Linked DNA regions of Homo sapiens: region 1 is linked to region 2. Evidence: promoter capture Hi-C in 16 types of primary human blood cells and fetal thymus (Javierre and others, 2016). All regions are on one chromosome and are shown on one strand. The core of a region is centred on a gene start or on the middle of the fragment in contact, and the rest is flanking DNA. Distances in the headings are between cores, read along the strand shown. Region 1 has its middle 91 kb from the start of MPHOSPH6. Region 2 holds the start of HSD17B2 (hydroxysteroid 17-beta dehydrogenase 2).

Region 1 (3,986 bases), core at 1,098-3,597, 230 kb after region 2:
CTAAACCTTATTTACCTAGGTTTTATTCAGGGAGCTTGTCAAGAGGCTTGGGGTGAATACACATTTATCATTCTTCCATTTGTTCACTTAACACTTTATGCAGGGTTATGGTGTATGCCTGTTTTTAGTAATGTGCAATTAAAAAAGAGAAAGACAAGTTTAATGCCACAGCAAGTCTACCATTCTACTCAGTGAAGTTGGACTCACAGGCAATAGATGCACTTAAGCCTGAAACAGTGAATGGAGGCTTAAAACCAATGGAAATTACTTATGAATAATTTTAAGGGCTTGTCACCCTTTGACAAAAGAGGGAGATACATGATTCATCTGGCCGGCTAAGTGGGTGGTGATGGCATTGTTGGCAAAGAAATGCAGGAATTAACTGAGGATCAAGAGAAGCTTTGAGCAAGGGGGCAAGAGGGGGGAACTTATAGGCTTGTCCTCAGAAGACATTTGTGGTCGATTTGGGGATTTTAAAGATCAAGTTAGACTCTTGGTCATTTTTGCTCTTTACCTGCTGACAGCCTTGCGAACCATTCAAGGAAGTGCTGGAACATGGCAGAAAGCACAGAAGATAAAATCTTTGCCTTCTGGGCACAGGGTCTGGTGTGGAAGGCAACAAAATCAAATAGCAATCACAAAACCATACAAAAAAGACAGAGATAGGAGTGTGTGCAGAGTTGGGGTAGCACAGAACAGGGAGCTTCTGAAGGTAAGGTCGAGTGTATTAGTCTCCCAGAACTGTAGTAACAAATTCCCACACACTTGCTGGCTTAAAACAACAGAAATTTATTCTCTCACAGTTCTGGAGGCCAGAAGTCTGAAGTCAAGGTGTCAGTAGGGCCATGCTTCCTCCAAAGGCTCTGGGGGAAGACCCTTCCTTTTCTCTTCCAGCTTCTGGTGGTTCCTGGCATCATTCCTTGACTTGTGGCTGCATCACTTTAGTCTCATGGCTCCTTTCCTCCTTCTCCCTGTGCCGCTCCTCTGTGTGTCTCTTACAAGGGCACTTGCCATTGAATTTAGGGCCCACTCAGATTAGGATGATCATATCTCAAGATCTTTAACTTAACTACATTTGCAAGCCTGCCTGCCTGCCTGCCTGCCTGCCTGCCTTCCTTCCTTCCTCCCTGACTGCCTTCCTTCCTTCCTTCTTTCCTTCCTTCCTTCCTTCCTACCTTCCTACCTTCCTTCCTTCTTTCCTTCCTTCCTTCTTTCCTTCCTTCCTTCTTTCCTTCCTTCCTTCCTGCCTGCCTGCCTGCCTGCCTTCTTTCCTTCCTTCCCTCCTTCCTTCCTTCCTTCCTTCCTTCCTTCCTTCCTTCCTTCCTTCCTTCCTTCCTTCCTTCCTTCGTTCCTTGACAGGGTCTCACACTGTCACCCAGGCTGGAGTGCAGTGGCGTGATCTCAGCTCACTGCAACATCTGCCACCGAGGCTCAAGCAATCCTCTTACCTCAGCCTCCGGAGTAGCTGAGACCACAGACATGTGCCACCATGCCTGGCTAACTTTTCTGTATTTTTGTGGAGCTGGGGTTTCACCATTGATGTGGTTTGGTTGTGTTCCCACCCAAATCTCATCTTGAATTGTACCTCCCATAATTACAACATGTTGTGGGAGGGACTGGTGGGAGATAATTTAATCATGACGGTGGTTTCCTCCATACTGTTCTCTTGGTAGTGAATAAGCCTCATGAGAAGCCGTGGTTTTACATGGGGAAACCCCTTTTGCTTGGCTCTCACTTCTCTCTTGTCTGCCACCATGTGAGATGTGCCTTTTGCCTTCTGCCATGATTGTAAGTCCTCTCCAGCCACATGGAACTGTAAATCCATTAAACCTCTTTTTCTTTATAAATGACCTAGTCTCAGGTATGTCTTTATCAGCAGCATGAAAATGGACTAATACAACCATGTTTCCCAGGCTGGTCTTGAACTCCTGGGCTCAAGTGATCCACCCACCTCGGCCTCCCAAAGTGGGTGGATTATAGGTATGATCTATCACACCAGGCCCTACAGGCCCTTTTTATTTTCACATTAACAGGTTCTGGGGTTTAGGATGTAGACGTATCTTTTTAGAGACCACCATTTAACCCCATTACATTAGGGAAGTCTCCTTGGATGCAATAAACAGTTTGTCTAAATCCTGAAGCAATTAGCTAGGTGAAAGGGTAGAGGAAATTATTCCAAAAGGAGGGAGGAGCATGTGCAAAGGTCCTGTTGAAAGAGACTCTGCAGCCATTCATGCATACCATGAGACTTCTGGAGTACAGGGGGAGTGTGTGTAGCATATCGTGGAGTGAGGAAAGGGAGATGTTTTGGGCTAGGGAGGTATGCAAGGCCCATATTCCAGACAGCCTGGGATGACATGATAAAGAGATTGGAGAAACTACTAAAGAATTTTAAACAGGGAGGCAATATGAGCCAATTGGCATTTAGAAAGATCACTTTGGACAATTTGTGGAGGATGGGGTGCAGCAAGTCCAGTGGTGGCGAAGCTAGTTAGCAAAACTTTTGCTCAGTAAATGTGCATTGGCTTGAATCCTCCCTCTCCTTATTTCACAGATTCTATTTTCTTACATTAGCGTGTGATTTTTGCTGGGCTGTTGGATGCTATTTAACATGCTAAGCCAATCTACTTACTTGTAATGCTCATCACTAATAGGAAACAAGATGCTGGCCTCACAAGGTAAACTGGCCTCACTCAGTTGACAAAGTCCCTTGCACTGATGATCAAAGATTGTAAATGGATTAAACAGGTTGACGGTGTCAGTTCCAATTTTTTGAGCTACCAAATCATCTTGTCAACAATTAGCATCTACAAAATATGAAGACGGATACATCACTGTTTCAGAAAAGACTGAGGAATTCTGGGTGTTGCTCTGGATATGACACAGATTTCTCCCTTACCACTGCTTTGTAGTGGCTGCTGAAATTAAGGCTTGAATGCTTTAAGAATACCTATTGAACCTCCTCTAGGTGTCAAGGATATCCAGGATTTAGCAGAGAACCAAACAGCCTGTGCCTTCGAAGAGCTCACAGTCTAGAAAGGGGTGGTGGTACTTCTGTGCTAGAGAAGAGAGGGGGGTTCTGTATATTTCCTAAATGCCCCACCAGAGGGGCTAAAGGGGGAAGGTTGCAGAGTCCTCTGTTTTGGCTTCATGCTGCAGTGCCTGACTCTGCCTTGAAGGTGTCTTGTTCAGTGGTGGGATCACTCTGCTTGTTGGTGACAACCTGGGTATAGAGATGCCTTCTGAGTACATTCCTTAGATGTCCTCCCTGTGCTCCCACTCCCCTGTCCACTCTTTGGGGGTTAGCATCATCACTGTCCATGCCCTCCAATGGGATTAGCTCCCTTCCTGACCCCAGGGATCTCTTACAGCATGGAAGTGCATTTCTCCAGGTCCATTTATTCATCTGTTCATCCTGCAAACATGTACTGGCCGCTGACTGCTTATAATGTCCGGTGCCAGCGCTTGGGATTAATATAGACACAAATTAGACATGAGTCTTGCCTTTAAGATGCTTAACATTCATGTCACCCACTTAAAGCAAGGGTGGACTGTGGGAGGGCTAGTGATAAGCAGGGTGAGATTTCACTGGCAAGAGGCACTGATGCCATTGGAAGGGGCTGGGTTTGTGGGTGTGAGAGTGGTGGGAAATGTAGGGCAGGAAGAGAAAATGGTGAAGCTGCCCTTTGAAGGGTTTGACTAGGTGAGGATGGGTCAGATTCACCCTGACACACCTGGCCAGGGCTGATCCTAGTCTGGAATTAGATGTCTGGGTTCAGAACCCATGCTATCTGTGAGACCATGTGCAAAGGTCCTCACCAGCTAGGCCCCATTACCTCATCTGTGAAATGAGATACACATAGTTCTTCCTTCCTGGTGATTCCCTGGAGATTTGGCCAGCTTCGTATGATGCTTTGGGCACAACCCCCAGCATGGCATCAACTCTTGATCAGTACCAGCTAGCTGCCATTGCTGTTAGCCAATCC
Region 2 (3,984 bases), core at 1,168-3,667:
TTTCAAAACAGCCCTTGGAAGAAAGACTCCTCCTACCGCCAATTTACAGAAGAGGAAACTGAGGCTTAGGAAGGGCAGGTAACTTGCCCAGTGCCTCACAGCTAAGCCAGGATTCGAACTCAATTTAGAAGTCTGTGAGACCCGAAAGCTCATGTTCTTAATACTGTTCAGCCCCTTCACCATCAGGGCTCAGGGAGTATCCTTCATGGGACTTCTGTGTGGCCTGAGGGTGGCTTTTGCTCATAGATTTTACCCTCCCCTTGGGAGCCCCAGGACAGAGTAGGTCTGGGAACTCGCAAGGGCTGCCTCCAGGAGAAAAGCCACCTCTCTCAAGTGGGCGTGCACTTGGCAGGAAGCCTGCGCAGGTGTTTGGCTCAGCCCAAATGTGGGAGCCACTGACCAAATGCCAAGACTCTCAGCGAAGAGCCATAGCTAGTCCTGTCTCCCCACCTGGAAGCTGTTTTTCGAACGGAGCTAACTGCCAGGATGCTCTGGGCTGGTGAGGCCACAAGGATTGTGAGAGGTGCCCTGTGGCTCAGATGGCACCCAGGAAGGAATTGGGGTCTGTTGAGGGAGGGAGAGTTCAGGGCTAGCCAAAGGCAATTCCAGATCCCTGCCCCTAAGCTTCCTGGCCTGGAGCTGGTAACGTCTCCCTGACTCAAATGTCCATGTGGCTGGGAGGGCAGACAACAGTTGCCATCACTCCACGCAGACCCTCATAACTGCCTTGTTGTCCAACCCCACAGTCCCACAGCACAGTAATGGTTCACAAGACACTGCTTCCCACCCCTTCTCCCTTGGGTCTTGAGTTGGCTTTGAGCCCAGGTGGGCTCTGCCTCACCTCCCTTTACAGGGGATACGCTGCTGGGTCCCTTCCTTCCCGAGTCCTGCCTCCCCAACATCATCCACAAAAGGCATCCTCTCCCTTCCTCCTCCTGCCCCTCATTTAACTCCAGCACGTGTTTTGAGACAAGTCTATACTCCACTGGACACTTTGTTTTACACGACTTCCTCTTATTCTTCATTCTCCTCCTGTTTAAAAAACATGAATCACTAGCATTTATGAGGTTCCTTCTACTGTTCCAGGCAGGATATGATATTATTTTATAGCCAAAGGGATGAAGATCTAGGGAGGTGAAGTGACCCTCCCAAGACTATGTAATTAATAAGTAGTGGAGTTAAGATTAGATTTGAATAGAGGGAAACTGACCTCAAATAGAGAATGTTTCTCTCTAGCTATGCCAAAGTCCAGCCTTTATCACAACCTTGCCTCCCTCCAGCCAGGCATGTGGCCCACATGGGGCACGCCCTGAGCCCAGGTGCGGTGACCCCTCTCTGGCTTAGCACGGTTAGGTGGTGCTGTAGTTGCAGAGTGCTGGCTTTTAAGCCGCTTGTGAGTAAGGGATTTATTTTTTCCCAGCCTCAGTTTTTCTCTCTGTAAACTGACCATAATAATAACACCCACCTCAAACAGTTTTATAAGGTTGAAATGGGGTGAAAGTAGGAAAGATCTAGCACATAATGCACTAATTTTTTTTTTTTTTTTTGCCTAAAGCAGGCAGTGGAATAGAATGCTTAGGGGCATACAGCTCTGAGATCAGGCTGCAAGACTCCACTGCTGTGTGATCTTGACTAAGTCTCTTACCCTCTCTGTGTCCTGGTTTCCTCACCTGTAAAATTACTATAATACTAGAATCAACTTCATAAGGATATTGTATTCAAGGAGGATGAGAGGAGTCCCAGTGAATGGAGGCTGGCATAGAATAGGCTTACAATAAAGAGAAAGAACAAATAAGCAGCTATACACAGCCTCTGCCACAAAAAACTACCAATAGATATTAGCCGCTATTAGTTAATTGTCATTATTATCTCTCCCTGGCATGTTTCCACTCAGGCAAGACCAAAGCACTTTCCTCTACCAAGGAATATCTTCCTCTACTTTCATATCCCTCTCCATCCAACCCTTCAGCCTGCCTCAGTTGGGATTTGTAGGAGTCCTGAAGCTATGGACCAGATCAGAGGTGCCTTCCCTTCCAGAATCTATTTTCCAAACTTCATCGATTGCCTATATTTATATGCATGCATGCACACACACGCACACACACACACACACTCTCACTCACTCCCGAGTCAGAAAAAGGACTCAGCACCCAGACATACTGCAGGCTCTTGAAGAAGACAGTATTTTCCTGTGAGCTAGAGGATCTTCCTGTTATTCTCCATGCAGTTCAAATTCTGTCAATTATTATCCAGTTAGTCATCGCTCCAGAGGTGGACTGTCATTAAAAAAAAATAGAAGGTGTGTGTTTGTGGGTGAGTATGTGCATGTGTTGTGTATGCAGGGGGTGGGGAGGGGCGAGAGCGGTCAAATAGGAAGTGCCTTGGTATTTATGTTGAAGTGCACACTGGTTTAAATTACCCACTGGGAATATGATTATGCTTAATCTATGCTCAGTTGAAAGGGGCTGGGGCTGCTTTCTCCCCTCCCTTCTTGACTCTCTGTTCACAGAACTCAGGCTGCCTCCAGCCAGCCTTTGCCCGCTAGACTCACTGGCCCTGAGCACTTGAAGGTGCAGCAAGTCACTGAGAATGAGCACTTTCTTCTCGGACACAGCATGGATCTGCCTGGCTGTCCCCACAGTACTATGTGGGACAGTATTTTGCAAATACAAGAAGAGCTCAGGGCAGCTGTGGAGCTGGATGGTCTGCCTGGCAGGCCTCTGTGCAGTCTGCCTGCTCATCCTGTCCCCTTTTTGGGGCTTGATCCTCTTCTCGGTGTCATGCTTCCTCATGTATACTTACTTATCTGGCCAAGAATTGTTACCTGTGGATCAGAAGGCAGTCCTGGTGACAGGTAAGCAGACGGTGCTACAATTTTCACTGAGGGTATGATCTGAAACTTGCTTTGCCTTAGCAGGACTTTGTCAAATCTGGCTTAAAAATAAAATACTTGGCATGGAGTAAATGAAAGCCCTCACCCAAGTATTTTTCATGACACTGTTTTCGTTCCGTTTTTTCCAGGAGGTGCATTTGAAGGGGCTGGTAGTGGGAGGGAAGGAGAGGATGAAGTGCACCCAGACAATGATTTTGTTAAAATTTCCCAGGAATAAATATTAATAGGCAAAATGGCAATATTTCATGTGTTCTATTGTACCCAGGAATGTCCCATAGATTGTTTTTTAGGCTTAAATGGACTTTTGTTCTGACATCATTGTTTGGCCAGGTTCTCCACCTGGACTCTTCTTCCCTAGGTATGCAAGAACGCTTACAAGCCAAGTTCTACTTGTCCCTTGCTGTTTTGAAATATTGAAGGGATTCACTTACCTGGGCTGGAGACTTTGCAGTTTGCTTGGCTGCTGTCAAGAACCTTGTGTCCTGTCTGAACTGTTCCTCATTAGACCTCTAATGTTTCTTAATTGGACCAACTTGGCATCGTGTCCAACATTCAGTTGCCTGTTAGCTGAGCTGCCAGTTTTTCCCTTGTTTGTGTGTGTGTGTGTGTGTGTGTGTGTGTGTGTGTGTGTGTGTTTCCCCATTGCAAGTGTGAGGCCAAATTAAATTTCTTTGAGTTGTAAAATTTTTGCTTGGTTATGGAGTTTAAGCTTGGATAGGGCTGTAATTAGGATTATCCAGCGTTATCCTAACCCAGAAAGCCCTACCAAATAAAAAAAAAATCAGCTGTGGAATCATTTGGGGGAGATCATCACCCCTCTGACCATGATCCTCAGGGTGAAGGCAAGAATGGCATGGGGATGTGGTTGGGAGAAAATCTGGGGCTTGACAATTTGCAGAGAAACAGACTTTGTTTTTGGGTTAAAGTAAAATGCTTTCTTGAAACAAAATGCAAATTGGTGCTTGTTGGGGTTAGACAAGCCACAGAAAAGAAGCTTCTTTAAATTAATTTTTGAAAGTTTAGAGGGAGAAAATTCAGTCAATGGGATGTTTATCTGCAAGAATGTCTGATATCACCTGGAATCATGTATC

What was found. The method cuts DNA at HindIII sites, captures the fragments that hold promoters and counts their contacts. A CHiCAGO score of 5 or more calls a contact.
Region 1: a fragment that was not itself captured here is called in contact with the fragment with the promoter of HSD17B2 in region 2 in 3 of 17 cell types (M1 macrophages, monocytes and M0 macrophages); the score reaches 6.1 in M1 macrophages.

The regions. Positions count from the first base shown.
Region 1 is chr16:82,258,915-82,262,900 of GRCh38, forward strand. No RefSeq gene overlaps it. Among named protein-coding and RNA genes, the nearest start is that of MPHOSPH6, 91 kb to the left of the region's middle. RefSeq lists an enhancer at 1,186-1,685. The HindIII fragment of the contact is 3,900 bases long and covers 398-3,986 here.
Region 2 is chr16:82,032,836-82,036,819 of GRCh38, forward strand. HSD17B2 (hydroxysteroid 17-beta dehydrogenase 2) reads left to right here and starts at 2,418. Exons shown (of 5, transcript NM_002153.3): 1 at 2,418-2,854. The coding sequence starts at 2,590. The HindIII fragment of the contact is 2,978 bases long and covers 623-3,600 here.